Regions from separate parts of the Homo sapiens genome. Here region 2 is linked to region 1. Evidence: promoter capture Hi-C in human tissues and cell types (Jung and others, 2019). All regions are on one chromosome and are shown on one strand. The core of a region is centred on a gene start or on the middle of the fragment in contact, and the rest is flanking DNA. Distances in the headings are between cores, read along the strand shown.

Region 1 (6,377 bases), core at 3,874-6,373:
CTTCCCTTTGTAGGTGACCTAGCCTTTCTCTCTGGCTGCCCTTAACATTTTTTCTTTCATTTCTACCTTGGAGAATCTGATGATCATGTGTCCTGGGAATGATCTTCTCATGGAGTATCTCACTGGGGTTCTCTGCATTTCCTGAATTTGAATGTTTGCTTGTCTAGCTAGGTTGGGGAAGTTCTCCTGGAAAATATCCTGAAATATGTTTTCCAAATTGTTTCCACTCTCCCCATCTCTTTCAGATACCCCAATCAGTCATAGATTCCGTCTCTTTACATAATCCCATATTTCTTGGAGGTTTTATTCATTCCTTATCATTCTTTTTCTCTATTCTTATCTGCCCGTATTATTTCATAAAGACAGTCTTCAAGCTCTGAGATTCTTTCAGAGGAAGAATCTTTCAGAGGAAGACTAAGCAGAACTTGGCCTATTCTTCTATGAATACTTCTGATTGCATTGTGAAGTTCTTGTAGTGTGTTTTTCAGCTCGATCAGGTCAGTTATGTTCTTCTCTATAATATCTATTTTGGCTGTCAGCTCCTGCATTGTTTTATCATGATTTTTAGCTTCCTTGCATTGGGTTACAACTTGCTTCTTTAGCTCAGCGACGTTCATTTTTATCCACATTCTGAAGTCTACTTCTTTCATTGCAGTGATCTTAGCCTTACCCCAGTTCCAAACCCTTGCTGGAGAGATGCTGCAGTCATTTGGAAGGAAGAAGGCACTTTGGCTTTTTGAGTTTTTAGTGTTTTTATGCTGATTCTTTCTCATCTTTGTGGGCTTATCTACCTTTGATTTTTGAGGTTGCTGACCTTTGGATGGGGTTTTGGGGTTTCTTTTGTTTTTCTTTTAACAATCTGGCCACTTTTCCATAAAGCTGCTGTGGCTTGCTGAGGGTCCCCTCCAGACTCTAGTCACTTTGGATTTTCCAGTACCTGGAGGTATCACCAGTGAAGGCTGTGAAACAGCAAAAATGGCAACCTGCCCCTTCCCCTGGGAGCTCCATCCCAGGGAGGTATGAACCTATTGCTGGCCTAAACACACCTGTAGGAGATGGCCGGAGACCCCATTTGGGAGGTCTCACCCAGTCAGGAGGAACAGGATTGGGGAGCCACTGAAAGAAGCAATCTAACCACACTTCCGAAGAGAAACTATGCTATGCTGGGCACCACTTGCATCCCCAGTTGGCTTGGGATCTCCAAAGCCTGGAGACTGGTGTGGCTAAGTCGCCAAAACAGCAAAGATGGCAGCCTGCCCCTCCCCCGAGGAGCTCTGTCCCAGGAAGTCTTCAAATCTCTGTCAGCCAGAGAACATCGACAGGAGTGGCTGGAGGCCACAGTTGGGAGGTCCTGCCCAGTGAGAAGGAATGGATTAGGGACCCTCTTAAAGAAGCAGTCTGGCCATATTTTGGTAAAGCAGCTGTGCCACGTTGGGAGATCCTTTCAGCCCCCAGTTGGTTTGAGCTCCCCAAAGCTGAAAGGCTGGAATGGCTGGGATGCCCAAACAGCAAAGGTGGCAGCCCTCTCCACCATCCAGGCACCCTGTCCCAGGGAGAGATCAAAATTTTATGGGCTGTAGAAAATGGGCAGAGGTGGCTGAAGGCCTTGTTTGGGAAGACCCACCCAGTGAGGAGGAATGGATAGGAGTCCTGCTTAAAAAAACAGTCTGGCCACGTTTTGGCAGAGCAGCTGTGCTGTGCTGGGGGATCCTTTCCACACCTGGTGGGTTTGGACTCTCCAAAGTCTACAGGCTGGAACAGCTGAGTCGTCCAAACAGCAAAGGTGGTGCCCCTCACCCCCACCCCAGCCACCCCCAGAACTCCACCTTGTCTCAGGTAGGTGCTACACTGTTGCCCGTGGCTGGCTGGAATTCCAAGCCAGTTGGTCTTATCTGGTGAGGTGCTGTGGAAGTGAGGCCCACAGACCAATGCTGCTCAGCTCCCTGGATTCAGCCTCCTTCCTAGGGGTATGTACAGACCTCCTGCCTTGCCTGAATGGCGGTCACCTTTGCTGGGGTTCCGGAGCCTGAGTATGTAAAGCTCCTGGGTGTCTGTGCATGCCTGAGCAGCTGCTCTGCCAATAATCCAATGCAGCTCTGTGTGTAAGACCCAAAGGCCTGGTGGAGTGGGTTCACAGGGGATCTCCCGATCCAAAGGTTGCAAAGATCGGTGGGAGAAGCATCATTCCCCAGGTTTGCACATTCACTCACCACTTCCCTGGTGGGGGGAGGGGAGGGGGTTTCCTTTGGGTCTGTGTTGCTCCTATGTAGGCCATTGCCCTGCCCTGCTTTCCTCTATCCTCTGTGGGTCGAGCTGATTCCTTAATCAGTCCCAATGCAAGTATCTGGATGTTTCAGATAAAGGTTTTGAAGTACCCACCCCTTTGTTCCTCTCTGAGAGAGCCATGCCCCATACCTGCTTCTAGTTGGCCATCTTTGAAAATAAAATTAAGAAAACAATTTCATTTACAAGCACATCAAAAAGAGTAAAATACTTAAGAAAAAATTTAACAAAGAAGTGAAAGACTTGCAGCCTAAAAAGTATAAAGAAATTAAGGAAGACCTAAATAAATGAAAAAAATCCCATGTTCATGGACCAAAAGACTTTGTTAGAATGGCAATACTCCCTAAATTGATTTACAGATTCAATGAAATTCCTATTAGAATCCCAGCTGGTTTCATTGCAGAAATTGATAACCTAAAATTCATATGGAAAAGAGAGAGATGCAGATTAGTCAAACAATGTTTAAAAAGACAGATAAAGTTGGAGCAGTCACAACTCCCAATTTCAAAATTTGCTATAAAGCTACAGTAATCGAGACAGTGTGGTACTGTCATAGGACAGACACAGAGATTGATAAAATAGAATTGATAGTCTAGAAATAAACCATTACATTTATGATGAATTGATTTCCAACAGAGGTGCTAAGACAGTTCAATGGTGGAAAAAATAGTCTTTTCAACAAATGATGCTGGGAAAACTAGATATCCATATAAAAAATGAAGCTGGATCCCTACCTCACACCATATGCAACAATTAGCTCAAAATGGATCAGATCTAAATGTTGCAGCTAAAACTATAAAAGTCTTAAAAGAACATATACGAATAAATCTTTGTATACTTGAATTATGCAATGGTTTCTTAGATATGGCACCAAAGACACAATTGACAAAAGAAAAATAAATCAATTGAACCTCCACATTTAAAACTTTGCGCTTCTTTTGCCAGAGATTCAGGTTTTAAAAAACAAAAAGCCTTTGTGCTTCAAAGGACGCTATCAAGAAAGTGAAAAGATGATCCATAGTAAGGGAGAAAATATTTACAGATATGTATCAGATAAGGGATTGTAACCAGAATATATAAAGAAGTCTTACAACTCAATAATAAAAAATAAATAACCCAATTTTTTAAATGGGCAAAGGATTTGAATAGAAATTTCTCAAAAAATAATACAAATGGTCAATAAGAGCATGAAAAGATGCTCAGCATAGGTAGTCATTAGGAAAACGCATATCAAAACTACAAAGAGGCCGGGCATGGTGGCTCATGCCTGCAATCCCAGCACTTTGGGAGGCCGAGGCTGGCAGATCACCTTAGGTTAGGAGTTTGAGACCAGCTTGGCCAACATGGTGAAACCCCGTTTCTACTAAAAATACAAAAATTAGCCAGGCATGGTGGCACGTGCCTGTAGTCCCAGCTACTTGGGAGGCTGAGGCAGGAGAATCACTTGAACCCAGGAGGTGGAGACTGCAGTAAGCCAAGATCGTGCCACTGCACTCCAGCCTGTGCAACAGAGTAAGACTCCATCTCCAAAAAAAAAAAAGAAAAAAGAAAAAAAACACAATGAGATACCACTTTACAGCCACTAGGATGGCTAGAATCAAAAGAATGGACAATAGTAAGTTTTGTTGACAATGTGGAACCCTCACGCATTGTTGATGGGAACAAAATGGTGTAGTCACTTTGGAAAACAGTTTGATAGTTCGTCAAAATGTTAAATATATAATTACCATATGACTCAACAATTTCACTTCTAGGTATATACCCAAGAGAAATAAAGCATATGTCCACACAAACACTTGCACATAAATATTTATAGCAGCATCATTCATAATAGCTAAAAGGGAAAACAGCCCAAACATCCAACTGATGACAGACAAACAAAATGTGGCATATCCATACAATGGAATGTTATTCAGCCATAAAAAGGAATGGGGAATGGATCCATACCACCACATAGGTAACCTTGAAAACACTAACTGAAAGAAGCCAGATGTGAAGGTCACATATTGATACTTCTATTTATGTGAAATGTTCAGAATAGGAAAATCTATAGAGCCAGAAAGTAGATTTGTGGTTGCCAGGGGCTTTCGATGACAGGAGGGGAGGGGAGCAGTCATTGCTAGTGATTACAGGGTTCTTGAGAGGGAGTGAGAAAAAATGTTCTAAAATGTATTGTGGTGATGGTTGCATAACTCTGTGAACATACAAAAACCATTGAATTCTATACTTTAAAAAGGTAAATTTTATGGGATGTGGATTATAGCTCAATAAAGCTGTCATTAAGAAAGGAAAAGGAAGGGAGGGGAGAAGAGGGAAAGGGGAGGGAGGGGAGGGGAGGGGAAGGGGGGAGAAAAAAGATACATCGTGGCATATCTCTTCCCTTTTACCTGTCATTATGTGTCAGTGCCTCCCATTGGCCTAAACTACCCAGAAGCCAGAGGGAAAGCCATTTGGGACTATATTCCACTGTGACACTGAGCAGAGCAAGGGAAGGATGGGGACACTTCTCTCACACATCTCTGACTCCCCAACATCTAACCCATGGCCTGGCATGTGATATTCATGCTATAAATATTTGTTGAATCAGTAAATGGCCCCTCATCTAGATTCTGCCAGGCAGCGCAGGGGGCTTTTTGAATGTAAATGACCTAATGATTCAGGATCCTATGACCAGCGACTGTCACCCTCTGTCACCTTTCTTCTGCCCCTTTATCTCTGAAGGCATTGAAGGGGCCCTGCATGAGTCAGGGAGGGCTGGGGGGAGGAGCAAGGGTGGGAGGGGCAGGGAAGAGGGTGGCTTCTCCGACAACTTAAAAGGGGCTTGAACCACTTCCTCCCCAGACAGGGGTAGTGCGAGGCCGGGCACAGCCTTCCTGTGTGGTTTTACCGCCCAGAGAGCGTCATGGACCTGGGTGAGTGAGCCTCTTCATGTGAGAAGGAACAGTACCAGGGTCTTGGACACCCAGACTGACCCTGTGGAATGGGGGTGGAGGATGCGGGTGGAGCGCATAGGGGTGCTTCCTGGAGAAATCAGTTCTGATTTGGTGGGCATTGGAAGCTACTTCCAGAGAATGCCCCCTGCTGTCCCAGGAGGGGTGCACCTGCCCTTTCAGACCTGGAGAAGGGGTCAGCCTTTGGTGCCAGTGGGGACAAGGGAGGGGCCGAGATCATGTCTTTCTAAAACAGCAGGGACATAAGAGAGTGGCGGGGCTGGGCTTGGTGGTCTGGCAGAACCTGTTCTCATCATGAGGGTGATAGGTTAGGCCCTCTGGGACCTCTGGGGACAGGTTTCAACAGAGAAATTCTCCCTAGAGAGCTTAGGACCTTTTACCCACTCTCTGATTCCCACCTTTCTCCCCTGCCAAATATTCATATACCTGTCCACTTGGGGTCATGAGGAGATGCAAATGAAACGTGACTGGGTTGTGAGAATGGTGCGGTGCATTGCAAATGCAAGCTCTGGTTGCTTTCTCTCTGCTGCACATCCCACCTGCTTTGATCTGGCTTTGCTGTTGCCTCTTGCAAGTTAAGGAACGGGCAGGCAACATGGAATGGGATGGCAAGGGGCACTCAGCTTGGAGAAATCATAGCCAGGCCTTCAGCACAGCCCCTGCCCCTGAGCAAACCTCACGCACTCTGCCCCGGCAGATAACTCTACTCTTTAGAAAGCCCTTTCTCAGGTCTAACCTAGAAGGGGTCAAGGGGAAGCACTGAGGGTGTTCTGAGTGGTTCATCCAGCTCCAGACGCCCCCTTTATAAATCTCAGCTGTGGAGTCAGACCAGGCTGAGGCTAAGAAGACCAGGTTCCTAGATGGCTTGTCTCACCAGCAAACAATGCACCACGGCGGCCTCAAAGCCGCAAAGGGTTGGCTTTAAAAAGTGAAGGTTCCCTGGTGCTGTCCTCACACCCCTCCTCGCCACACCACAGCCTCCTTGATTTCATCTCTTACTTTCCCGCCTGCCCTGAACGCTGGATCTGGACCCAGCAAACAGCTGTGAAAGGGTTAAAGTGGTCACCCCACCCACTGACTGTGAACTCCTGAAAGGCAGGTTCAGGTGCTTTGAGGATGTGAGGAGAAAATGTCTGCGGAATG
Region 2 (5,752 bases), core at 96-2,595, 64 kb after region 1:
CTGCAGAGGCTATCCATACCAGCCCCAGGGGAGATGGCCAGGGTTACCCCGGAGTTGCCACAGTCTCTGCCCAACACTTCGCCCTACTGTAACCTGCCCCTTCCACTCAAGAAACTCACGAGTCGCCCCTCCCACTCTCCCACAATCATGAGCCACAGCCTCATGGGGGAAGCCGCCATGTGCAGTGACATCCACTCCAGGGCAGGAGCACCACATTTTTCATCCAAAGACATAATTGCTCATCAAGCCATGTGCCAACAAGGCTGCATGGACACCTAGGGACACCTTTTATGTCACCATCAGGAAGGGGCACCTTATATAACTTTCCATAGCTTTGCTCACCGGCCTCCCATGCACTAGTTCACCATGCCTCAGTGAAACCCCAGGGCATCAAAAACTGTAAGGCCAGAAGCCCTTCCACTGGGCATAATGGGGGCATGGGGCAACCCACCCCTGAGATTAGCCTACTGGGATCACCATGAGTCCCTGGGCTGGAGACTTCGCCAGCTCCCTCACTTCAGACCGCTCCCAGACCAGGCTCTGCCATCAGCACCCTCCCCTCACCATGTCTGAACACCTCCTTACAACATTCTAGGACCCCTGCCCCTCTAGAACAGGGAGAGAGTTGGAACCATGGAGAAGGAGCTACCAGACCAGACTTCTGGGCTTCCTGATCTCACCCTCCAATGTCCTCCCCTCAGGGAACTTCCACCCTGGGGCACAGACCAGACGAGGGACAGAGATAGCCCATGAGTGAAGGAACAGCTATAAGCCCCTTCTCAAAGCCCTCCAGACACTTCAGCCTCCTTTCCTTGAGTTAGAGGCCCCATCCCAAGCTAGAGTCATTACTGTAAAAGGAGAGAAAGAAGAAAAGACAAGCTCGTGCCTAGCCTTACTTCCAGTGGGCCCTTACCCTGTGCCTGTCCCAGTGTGACCCAGCACAAAGGGGGACTGCAGAGGGTCTCCTGCCCACTGGCATCCTGCTTTGTCAAGGCCCTCACTCTCTGCCAGCTCTGCCAACCCATGGCCTCTGCCCCAGCCAGCACCTGAGGAGTGCCCACTGCACACCTTGATTCTAGCTATGCCCTGTCCAAGCAAGGACTCCCTGGCCATGTGGTGCCACGAGAAGCCCAAGCAGGAACTTGGGAGCCCCTCACACACACCCAGACCCAAAACCCACCACCCAGTGCTTCCCTTCCTGCTGCCTGTGCCAGCCCCACCTGAGCTCACTGGATCCAGCAGGGGTGGGGCCTACTGCTGTCAGGGCCACGTGCAGGGCCCGCCCGGAGGGGAGGAGAGAAGGCGGGCAAGCTGCTTTTAAGGCAGGTCTGGAGGTGAACTGGCGCCTCTCCTGACTCTTCACCTGGACTCTGAGTCGTCTTGGTCCCAGGAGCCAGTAGTGAAGGCAACAGTCTGCCCACCTGTGGACACCAGGTAGGTGCCTTTATTCTTTAAGAAGAGAGGAACACGGAGCACCTTTGCTGGCCCTGATTCATTTAAACATTTTTTTTTTTTTTTTTGAGATGGAGTCTTGCTCTGTCACCCAAGCTGGAGTGCAGTGGCGCGATCTCGGCTCACTGCCAACGTCTGCCTCCAGGGTTCAAGCGATTCTCCTGCCTCAGCCTCCCAAGTAACAGGGATTACAGATGTTTGCCACCATGCCCGGCTAATTTTCTTATGTTTAGTAGAGACGCGGTTTCACCATGTTGGCCAGGCTGGTCTCAAACTCCTGACCTCAGGTGATCCTCCCACCTTAGCCTCCCAAAGTGCTGGAATTACAGGCGTGAGCCCAGCCTCATTTAACCTTTTGTCTTCAGCTTCTCCATTTCTCAGGGCTCAGAGTGAAGGTGGGGAGAAATGGGGTGGAGGATGTGGATGAGACAGAGATGGTCTCAGGATCACAGACCGCGGAGTTCAGCAGTTCAAGGGAACTAAACCTGTGCCCCTCGGCAAATAGATGAGAGAGCTGAGGGCCACAGAGAAGAGGCTTGCCTGAGGTCATGGAAAGGGACTGGACACAGAACCCAGGCCTCTCGCCTCCCAGCGCTCTGGGAGCCCTCTGGGCACTTCAGAGGTAGACAGGACTGGGAGATGGGGCGGCTGGCCTTCACTGGTCCTATGGGTCCCTGCCTGAGGTCCACGTCCTGCGTCACCGGGTCTGGGTGGGAGGGATGGGAAGATCGGGAGCCAGTTTTCAAAAATAGGGGGTGCAGTGGAGATTGGGCTAATGAGGCAAAGTGCTTTGGGGGAGACTCAGGCTTTACCCTTGCCCCACCCTCTCCCTTCACTGACCTGGGCTCATTGGGAGAGAGTAAGTCAGGAGAAGAGGTTGGCAATGACACGGAAGAGGGGATTTGCCAAGGCACCAGGACTCCCCAGAGTCCTTGGGAACAAAGAAAGAGATCTGAGTCAGAATCAGAAGTGGGAGCGGGTAGGGGGCACCTACAAATAGAGCAGAGGTGGCTGGAGCCCTCCTTGCCCCCGCCCCGTGCCTCCCAACCACACAGAGCCCCGGGCCCAGGGACTCTCCCCACCACTTACAGCAAGAAAGAGCAAGTTAGAGGAGTGTGCGGGGCCGCGAAGGGGGCAGCATTCAGGAATACAGGAGTAAGATGGAGCCCTGCCTTGGTACATCCAAGGGCGACGCAGAGCCTTAAAAGTGAGGGGAGGCTGAAGAGGAGCGTAGGGGCTGCCTGCCCTTTGCTCAGCTCCAGGTCTGTCCCTCTTGGTTCCAGAATCCCAGAAGGGGCAGCGGTGGACAGGGTTCTTAAATATGTGAAGCAGCAGCAGAGGCTAAAAGTGTGGGACCGTGGAGCAAGACCACCTGGGTTTAAACCCCAATTCACAGTTGGGGTTGTATGACCTTGGGCAAATTCCTCAACCTCTCCAGCCCTGCAGCAATAGCACCCTCCTCAGAGAGCTGTTGAGAAAATGCAAGGTGTTCAGTGTCTGTTATTATCACATCCCCATCACACAGATGGGACAACTGAGGTCTGCCCAGAGAGGAAAGGACGCTTGCCCAGCGTGGCACAAAAGCTGTGTCCAAATTAGTAAGCAGGTATACTGGGTCCTGGTTGCGAGGGGACACCCAGCCCTCCTTGAGCTCTGCAAAGTCAGCAGCCCCAGCCTCCTCTGCAGGACACAGCCAGAAAACCCTGCAGGGAGCGCCCAGATCCTGTCCCAACAAACCCAGTCCACTTGGAGCCTGTGTGGAAAAAGCCGTGGTTCCGGCTCTGTGTCCTCAGCTGTCCCGGGAGGGCGGGAGCGCAGAGGCCGGCTCCCTTCCACTTCCATTTATAGAAAGCTTCCCGTGCCCGGGATGCCCCGCCCCCTGCAGGACCTGGCCAAGGAAAAGTCTGGCATCAGACCTACCGGAGCCACGGGCGTTGGGGGAGGCAGGAGAGGGGAAGGGGCCCTGGCTTTTCTCATGAAACCTGTGCGACCTTCAGCCAATCATGCCCCCTCTCTAGATCCCAGGTGTCCCTCTGCACTTGAATTCCATGTGGCATTGTAGCAGGACGAGCCGCAGACAAAACTCCTCAGACACCAAGTTAAAGAAGGAAGGGGTTTATTCGGCCGGGGGCATCAGCAAGACTCCTGTCTCAAGAGCCGAGCTCCCCGAGTGAGCATTTCCTGTCCCTTTTAAGGGCTCACAACTCTAAGGGGGTGCGTGTGAGAGGGTCGTGATCAATTGAGCAAGCAGGGGGTACGTGACTGGGGGCTGCACGCACCGGTAATTACGTGGGAACAAAACAGGAAAGGGATTTTCACAGTGCATTTCTATACAATGTCTGTAATCTATAGATAACATAACCGATTAGGTCAGGGGTCGATCTTTAACTACCAGGCCCAGGGTGTGGCGCTGGGCTGTCTGCTTGTGGATTTCATTTCTGCCTTTTAGTTTTTACTTTTTCTTTCTTTGGAGGCAGAAATTGGGCATAAGACAATATGAGGGGTGGTCTCCTCCCTTAGCATAAGGAATTAAGATTCCAAAATCCCACACCTGGGTTTGAATCCCAGCTCCACCATCTTTCTGGATGTGAAGCGTGTTTCTTGACCTCTCCGAGTCTCAGCATCTTCATCTGTAAAATGGACTGACAACTCAAAATAAATAAATAAGGCCAGGCACAGCGGCTCACACCTGTAATCCTAGCACTTTGGGAGGCCGAGGAAGGAGGAGCACTTGAGCCCAGGAGTTCAAGACCAGCCTGGGCAACAAAGTGAGACCCTCTTTCTACAAAAAATTCTCTGGGTATAGGGCACAAGCCTGTAGTCCCAGCTACTCGGGAGGGTGAGCTGGGAGAATCGCTTGAGCCCCAGGAGGTCAAGGCTGCAGTGAGCCATGACTGTGCCACTGCACTCTAGCCTGGGCAACAGAGCGACACCTTGTCTCAAGAAAAAAAAACAAGAGGACTGACAATAGGGTGCAGTACTTCCTAGAGCTGTGAGAGGATTGAGTTACCAATGTAATTCGTATGTAAACTATTTGGCACATGGTCAGCGCTCAATAAATGGAAGCTACTATTATGAGGCTGTTATACTCCATAAGTCCTTATTTCTAAGTACTATTTAGAATTGCCTAACTACCTTCACAAGGAGCACCTCACTGGTTCCATAACACTCTCTGGGAGGGTGCAGGAATTCTCATTACCATCTCACAGATGAGGAAACTCAGGGTCAGAGTCACACCATAAGGAGCTATTTGAGCTAGAAGTCAAATCTAAACCTTCGGATCCCAGAGTCCACTTTCTCTTCTCCCAGGCTAGTCTCAGATACCTTTTCCAGTGCTAAGGTCTGACTCCAAAACAGGACGTAAAGGAGGCGTTTTGGCAACGAGAAGAAAGAGAGTTGGGGGGTGTTGGTGGGGGCTGGGGACCAGCAGCAAAGCTCAGAGCAGGCAATGGGAGTGTAACCAGCACATTGCAGCTCTGTACAGTTTTCTTGGCAGCCTCAGTCCCAGAACTTCTTACCTCCTTACCAAGCCCCACCTACAAGAAACTAGCATGTGGCATTAAGGTTAGACAATGGAAAGGACTTTTCACAGTAAGGAAAATGAGGAGGTTGAGACATCTCTTTCCCAAATGAGCCCCAAGGAAATGAATATCATCTGATGATGTCACTCCCCAGCTCAAAACTTTTCAGAGCCTCCCTGTTGCCCTCAGGGTTGAGCTGGCAGTCCTGAGCCCAGCCTGCAAGGCCCTACGGGATCTGGCCAGCCTGCCTCCCCCGCCCCATCTCCTCCACCCACCCCAGGTGCTCTGTTACTCAGGTGCTCAATAGGGTCTTGTGAGCTTCCCTGCTGGCCAGACTTTTGCACAAATGGTCCCCTCTACTTTGTTTATTTATTTGTTTATTTGTTTAGTTAGAGACAGAGTCTTGCTCTGTCATCCAGGCTGCAGTGCATTGGCTCGATCTCGGCTCACTGCAACCTCTGCCTCCCAGCTTCAAGCAATCCTCCTGCCCCAGTCTCCTGAGTAGCTGGAATTACAGGCACGTGCCATCATGCCAGCTAATTTTTATATTTTTAGTAGAGATGGGGTTTCACCATGTTCACCAGGCTGGTCTCGAACTCCTGACCTCAAGGGATCAGCCCACCTCAGACTCCCAAAGTGCTGGGATTACAGGTGTGAGCCATCACGCCCAGCTCATCCCCTCTAACTTAAATCTTCCTCTCTGCCTCCTCATCCCTACTCAACTTGCGCAGCTACCTCTTGCTTTTCCTTCTTATCTCCCTTTGCGTGTCCCTTCCTCC

What was found. The method cuts DNA at HindIII sites, captures the fragments that hold promoters and counts their contacts. A contact is called where the count stands out against the background at its distance.
Region 2: a contact is called between the fragment with the promoter of TNS4 here and the fragment with the promoter of CCR7 in region 1, in 1 of the 25 tissues and cell types used here (heart right ventricle).

What each region holds. Positions count from the first base shown.
Region 1 is chr17:40,564,218-40,570,594 of GRCh38, reverse strand. CCR7 (C-C motif chemokine receptor 7) reads left to right here and starts at 5,123. Exons shown (of 3, transcript NM_001838.4): 1 at 5,123-5,195. The coding sequence starts at 5,186. RefSeq lists an enhancer at 5,568-6,377. The HindIII fragment of the contact is 11,021 bases long and covers 1-6,377 here.
Region 2 is chr17:40,497,216-40,502,967 of GRCh38, reverse strand. TNS4 (tensin 4) reads left to right here and starts at 1,345. Exons shown (of 13, transcript NM_032865.6): 1 at 1,345-1,434. RefSeq lists an enhancer at 2,932-3,803. The HindIII fragment of the contact is 10,438 bases long and covers 1-5,230 here.